Regions from separate parts of the Homo sapiens genome. Here region 2 is linked to region 1. The links are contacts of gene promoters, found by promoter capture Hi-C in human tissues and cell types (Jung and others, 2019). All regions are on one chromosome and are shown on one strand. Each heading gives the region's core, a stretch centred on a gene start or on the middle of the fragment in contact. The rest is flanking DNA. Distances are from core to core; before and after follow the strand shown. Region 1 holds the start of OR2S2 (olfactory receptor family 2 subfamily S member 2). Region 2 has its middle 13 kb from the start of SPAAR.

Region 1 (3,513 bases), core at 788-3,287:
CTTGCACTGAGCAACCAGGAACACCCTTCTGTGCTGTATGAAGGGATGGGAAGAGGGGAATAGGATTGCACAGGAAATACCTTGAGACCCATGGTTGTGTAATGGGGGAAGCTTCTCCTGGGTTAGACCAATCGTTCTCTTCTGGGTATAATTTTGCACCGTCCCCCCCGCCAACCCCCCCCCCCCCGCCCCAACACACACACCTTTCCCCTGGAAGCATGTGGCAGCGTCTGGAAACATTTTGATTGTTACAACTCAGGGTAGAAGGTGCTATTGGCAACTGATTGGTGGAGGTCAGAGACTCTGCTAAACATCCTACAATGCACAGGACAGCCCTCACACCAAAGGGTTATCCAGCACAAAATGTCAATCGTAAAGAATTTGAGAAACCCTGAGTTCCATTTAGGGTGGGAGGTGCACTGCCTGACAACACATCTGACATAAACCCTCCCCCATGACTGAAGAGAGAGTGTTGGACAGACAGTGAGACTGGCCAGAGAATACACAGAGCTAATTGAGATCATAACAGTGTGTACAAGTTTGACTTTGTCCTTTTAATTTATCATTATGCTATAGCAATATTAGCACAGAGAAAATTATAAATAGGACTATAAGATCTGTCTAATATTGGAGGGACAGAATCTTTTGCAAAGCTGTGCACCAAAAGAGAAAAGCAGCTGTTTCGTGAAAGAACTCAGGACTAGGTCTTGGAATCCAACTCCAGCTCTGCCATTCAACCCCAAGGAGCAAATTTATCTTCTGAGCTCCAGTTACTTCACCTGTAAAACCTGAATGATAATATCTTCTCCATGAGCTGTTTCAAGAAATATGGCACAGCTTATATTCCTTAATATTAGTGAGAATCCCTAATATTCTCACTAATATTAATATTAACCACTCATCTTCCATCATCCACCCACTCTTATACACACTCATAGAGCCACTGTCATTAAGAAGGAGCTATCAAAATATTATCTATGAGTACTTTGAATTTAGAGTCAGGGAAATTGCAAGTAAGAGACTAGATATCCTCTATACAAAGGCATATAAGTCTTCCTATAAGCCAGCTGCTTGCATAGAACTCAAGAATGGAGTCAGAGAGTCAGAAGATAATGCAAGAATAAAATGCAAACATAAAAGGACAAAGAAAAAACATTCTTAGTCATTCACGGTTAGGAATTTCACAGACATCCTAATGAGATGGGATCAGAAGTTAATGCCATATACTCTACTATCGATAACTATAGTTAGAGTGTGGTTATTAATATTGCATTAACTAACTGGTAAGCTACACAGTGTTGTCTCATGGTGTGAGTTCAGTCACTCCAACAAATCCATTTGTTGGCTTCATAAATTTCCCAGCTATAGGACCTCCCCATATATTGCAATAAATCCATATTTCAAATAGGCAGATCTATTCCTGTCAATGCTCAAGCCTGTGTCACTAGACTGAAGAAGTAATGCTCTTTATGGCTGAATATTAACTAGGCTTGTTTCTGTGTGAATATGGTTGAACAATTTTGCGCAATTTCCTCCCCACGTGTAATCAAAGTTTAAAGAAACTTAATCACTTGCTAGGTCCAAGAATTGCATCTTCTTGGGAATTTTCCTCTCTGAGAATCTAAGAAAGCCCAGATCAAATGAAATTGCTGTGGATTTGCATTAAAGAGAAATAATTCATAGCATTTCCTAGCACTTAATCACAATGAAGAGGAAAAGCCCTCCTTGGGCCAGGGATATGCTCTGCTGGGTTCAAGTCTTGTCTCTGTCACCAACTTGCTCAGAAGATTTGGACAGGTCACTTCTCCTCCCCAGGCCTCTATCACCTTTGTGGACACTGAGAGGGTGCAGCAACTTCAGAAAAATCCCTCATGCACAACCGGACATTTGAGGCCCTCACCCACTACCTGTCCAGCTCTGACCTTCTGTCTTCTAAGACACCCCCTACTGTCTCTTTCCGTCATTTTTCTCTTGCACAGATATGTTCTTCTATTATGCAATGGGAACTTGACCACATATTAGATGCCTAGGACTCTTCCCAAAAAGCCTGATGCGCTGCTCAGTACTTTGCTGATGGCAGAGGGGATATCACATGGAAAAAGCCAATGAGACCTCCCCTGTGATGGGGTTCGTTCTCCTGAGGCTCTCTGCCCACCCAGAGCTGGAAAAGACATTCTTCGTGCTCATCCTGCTGATGTACCTCGTGATCCTGCTGGGCAATGGGGTCCTCATCCTGGTGACCATCCTTGACTCCCGCCTGCACACGCCCATGTACTTCTTCCTAGGGAACCTCTCCTTCCTGGACATCTGCTTCACTACCTCCTCAGTCCCACTGGTCCTGGACAGCTTTTTGACTCCCCAGGAAACCATCTCCTTCTCAGCCTGTGCTGTGCAGATGGCACTCTCCTTTGCCATGGCAGGAACAGAGTGCTTGCTCCTGAGCATGATGGCATTTGATCGCTATGTGGCCATCTGCAACCCCCTTAGGTACTCCGTGATCATGAGCAAGGCTGCCTACATGCCCATGGCTGCCAGCTCCTGGGCTATTGGTGGTGCTGCTTCCGTGGTACACACATCCTTGGCAATTCAGCTGCCCTTCTGTGGAGACAATGTCATCAACCACTTCACCTGTGAGATTCTGGCTGTTCTAAAGTTGGCCTGTGCTGACATTTCCATCAATGTGATCAGCATGGAGGTGACGAATGTGATCTTCCTAGGAGTCCCGGTTCTGTTCATCTCTTTCTCCTATGTCTTCATCATCACCACCATCCTGAGGATCCCCTCAGCTGAGGGGAGGAAAAAGGTCTTCTCCACCTGCTCTGCCCACCTCACCGTGGTGATCGTCTTCTACGGGACCTTATTCTTCATGTATGGGAAGCCTAAGTCTAAGGACTCCATGGGAGCAGACAAAGAGGATCTTTCAGACAAACTCATCCCCCTTTTCTATGGGGTGGTGACCCCGATGCTCAACCCCATCATCTATAGCCTGAGGAACAAGGATGTGAAGGCTGCTGTGAGGAGACTGCTGAGACCAAAAGGCTTCACTCAGTGATGGTGGAAGGGTCCTCTGTGATTGTCACCCACATGGAAGTAAGGAATCACAATCACATCAGCTGCCATTCAAAAGCCAAGTCATGTGACCTATAATGGTTTCTCACTCTAAGTCCATTTGCAGGAGATATTAAACTTTTCAGACGATATCTCCTGAGTTTTAGTCCTATGTCTGACAGCTTCAACAGACACCAGACTCAATAAATAATCAACTGTGATGAAGGCATTCTGAACATACGGTAAAACCACACGAGACAGCAGCCATGAAAGCATGACGCATGGCCCTTAGAGTGTCTCAGCTCTAGAGTTAGAACAGGGACGTGAGAATGTTCTCACAGCAACTTACCAGCCCTACTGGATTCACCAGGGAAATCAGAGAAATAAGGAGGGAGTGGAAACTTTTACTGAGGCTTCAGTTTATTACACTCAGTTTGCCTGAATGGCTAAGAAAAGGTAAGTTCT
Region 2 (3,700 bases), core at 1,134-3,633, 36 kb after region 1:
CCTTCTTGGCAGATGGGAAGACAGGCATGCATGAAACCACAGCCTCTTCTATTCCAAATGTATCATCCATTATCACTAGATGCAGCTGCCTCCCCCACACTCTCTGAGTCACTGGGTAATGCTACAGTCTTTCATTTTCACCTCCATTACAAACCTTTCAAGGATTCTTGCTAGTAGCTTTTGCTTTCACTAGGAACTTCCCAAAGGCAAAATTACAACAAATTATTTGTAATGATCAAATTGGCTTTTATTTGTGATTCTAGAATCAGGCAACACCTCATTCTACGAAATAGAATGAGTATTCCAGTGAAGTGGGCAGAGAAGTTTGGCTTTATGGATAAAAGAGGGCTGAAGAAAGCAGAAACAGGGAACAAAAAGCAGATTGGTCATTTCAAAGTTGCTTTCCTTATAGGGTTAAAGCAGAGGGCACTTTTTATTGTGCTGATTCAGGGTGACTGGAAGCTCCTGCGTTTTTGGAAAACTGCCTCATTTCAAAGTCCGGTTTGATGACTTGGCAGTTAGCACAGGTGACTCTGCTCTGGTTTGATCTGCTCTGCTAGGGCCAGTGTAGGAGGCTAGTCCAAAACAATGGCCTCCCATAAACTATGTAACAGAATACAATGCACTGGTGTGCTGTTTAATTTGTTTCAGTTATGAGTGATAGAAAACCACATATCAATAGTGGTTTAAATAAGACTGTTTTGCTTTGGTATAAAAGCCTGGAAGAAGGCAGTATAGGACTGATATGGGCTCCCACAGTATCAGGAACCCAGGCCCCTTTTATCTTATTGTTCCCCCAAATGGGGCTTCTACTCCCAAGGCCACTCTGGTCCAATCTGACTTCTGTAGCTCCAGCCATTATATCTACATTCTGGCCAGATAAAGGAGAAAAAACAAAGAAGAGTATTCCGCCTCTATTTAAGGACATTTCCCAGAAGTCACACACCACTTCTACTGGCCATTCCTAGTTCCAAGAGGGACTGTGTTGATGTTATTGTTGTTTTTCTAATAAGGAAAAAGAGGAAAACTGAGGTTAGGAGACAAGTAGACCCCTGTGCACAGGGTCAGACATAAAGTCAAATGATCACCGATGCAGCTCTGGTGCGGCCTCTCTGAAAAATCACCAAACTTAACACCAAATCCTAAGGACTCCATACCTCAAACCCCTTAAAATGAGATCAATGAAAATGAGCGGTGGCCAAAATTGGGACCCAGGAGAATGTATCCAGTAGGATCACGATCAGTCAAGCAAATAGGTTTTACTTGGGTTTCCTGGATTTGTGTTGTGTTTTGTTTTGCTTTGTTTGAGATGGAGTCTCCCTCTGTTGCCCAGGCTGGAGTGCAGTGGCACAATCTCGGCTCACTGCAACCTCCATCTCCCGGGTTCAAGTGATTCTCCTGCCTCAGCCTCCCGAGTAGCTGGGACTACAGGCGCGCACCACCACGCCCAGCTAATTTTTATATTTTTAGTACAGATGGGGTTTCACCATGCTGGCCAGGATGGTCTTGATCTCTTGACCTCATGATCCACCTGCCTCAGCCTCCCAAAGTGCTGGGAATACAGGCACGAGCCACCGTGCCCGGCCAGATTTGTGTTTTTATGCAGGAATTCCTTCCCAGCATTTCTCGGAAATACTGTTTTTCCAAATGCCAATTCCTGAGAAAAAGAAGTTAAGACATCTAGGAACCTGGTAAGAGTGTTTTTGTGTGAGAATTAAAGCTTAGCAATCAACATGTTGAACTAGATGTGACTAGTTCAAAGGAATCCACTGACACCAAATCAAAAGCGAGAGTAGAAAATACTGAGGCACCCATAGGAAAGTTAAGTTCTGAATGGAACTGGGGAGTAGAGGAGAGAAAAGGCCATCATCTAATCAGTCTTCCGACTGCTGTTGCCAGGGTAGAGGTGGTGGTGGGCTAGCGCTGGCTCAAGAAGAGCCAGTTGTATGCTGCTCTTCCCAGCTCTCAGTGACATCCCCTCGGTAGCTGGGCATTGACCATTGTGGGAACATTTATGCCTCCCCTCAGAATTTGGCAAACCCTACATATAAGGGTTTTTTTTTTTTTCTCCAGGAGAGTCAGTTTACCAGCACACACTGGTTATAAGTGTGTGTTTGTGACCTGGTCTGCTTCTAATGGTAAGTCATTTTTGCAAATAAAACAAATATTGGTAAGTTTGTACACATAGGATACTTATACAAGTCCTATGAGCAGTGTCGGAAAAAAATAACAAATTTTGAAAGCAAAATAAGTCTTGAAACTGGCAATTCCAACAAGTGATTCTATGAACCTTGTTAGTGAGTCTGAATGTTAGTTATTTGAACACTTCCCAGTAATGATTGCTGGCATTTCCACGTGTTGAATATTCATTATAGGCTACAGTTCTTTGTAAATACTTTAACAGAAGAGATGCAAAAAGAAGACGTGATTGCTGTTATAGAACACTCCAGAAGGAAATCAGAAATTGCTCTAAAATCTGAATTAGCAAGAGCAATATTGATCTCAATGGCAAAATCAAGACCAGAGTAAGCAGACCAAAAAGTAAAAATAAAAATAAAGCATCATTTAAAAAGGAAATGAGCTTCTATAAAACAACATGTACCCTAATGGCTAACCTGAAGATGTTAGGGGCACACTCAACCAACATCAATGAAAAATGAAAAAACAAAAAAGTTTCCTACATCTAGAATATTTGTCACAAAACAAAGATCAAAACTATCAGATAGAGCAATTAAAGCTTTGTGTTTTAAAAGTTCATTTTAAAAATAACTTTTAAAATTAAATGTTTGTGCTATTATTTTTCCATTTTTAAGTGATTTTTATCTGGCATTTATTTTGCAATAATGTTCCCTCCTTTTTAATGTTTTCTATATCCAGTGCCTATATCAGGTGGAGATAATTTTTATGTTATTGAAATAATCTTGTCACAACATATTGGTTCATAATAATAATAAACCTTAAGGAAAAAGTCTGGAACTTTTAGCATCAATTTGTCACTGACAATTATTAACTGTTTATTATTCTGGTCATTCATTATTATTTAAAAGTATGTGAATATAATGTTATAGAAAATATGAGCCAGGCGCAGTGACTCACACCTGTCATCCCAACACTTTGAAAGGCTGAAGCAGGAAGATAGCTTGAGGCCAGGAGTTCAAAACCAGCCTGGTCACATAGTAAGACTCTGTCTCTAGAAAAGAAGAAAACAAAATAGCCAGGAGCACCCTAATGGCTAACATGAAGATGTTAGGGGCACACTCTATAGGCATGTACCTATAGTCTCAGCTACTCGGGAGGCTGAGGAAGGAGGGTCACTTGAGCTCAGGAGTTCGAGGCTGCAGTGAGCTATGATCGTACCACTGTACTCCAGCCTGGGTGACAGAGTAAGATCCTGTCTCCAAAAAAAAAAAAATTTAATGTATAATTTCAGGAATGCTCATGAATTCCCAGAAATTTCAATTTCTCATTCCTGAATACTGAACAGAAGTATTCGCGGGGAATTTGGAAACATTATTCTGGAGCTTTCAAACCTTTTAAAGCAGCAGACCCCTTTTTATCAAGCAAAATCTACCTGGGAAACAGAAGATATAAAAGAGGCAAAAATGAGGCTCTGGCTGAAGGAGAGGGGATAATATGGTCCTGTGCTGAACTTTGTGACCAATTTGTTGAGTGACTTGGAGTGGGGCCTGTCACTTTTGTG

Evidence for each region. Contacts are between HindIII fragments. The study calls those that stand out against the background at their distance.
Region 2: a fragment that was not itself captured here is called in contact with the fragment with the promoter of OR2S2 in region 1 in 3 of the 25 tissues and cell types used here (aorta, lymphoblastoid cells and spleen).

Annotation. Positions count from the first base shown.
Region 1 is chr9:35,956,678-35,960,190 of GRCh38, reverse strand. It overlaps OR2S2 (olfactory receptor family 2 subfamily S member 2), which reads left to right and starts at 2,037. Exons shown (of 1, transcript NM_019897.2): 1 at 2,037-3,083. The coding sequence starts at 2,093. The coding sequence ends at 3,052. The HindIII fragment of the contact is 4,346 bases long and covers 1-3,513 here.
Region 2 is chr9:35,920,814-35,924,513 of GRCh38, reverse strand. No RefSeq gene overlaps it. Among named protein-coding and RNA genes, the nearest start is that of SPAAR, 13 kb to the right of the region's middle. RefSeq lists an enhancer at 44-1,243. The HindIII fragment of the contact is 3,057 bases long and covers 855-3,700 here.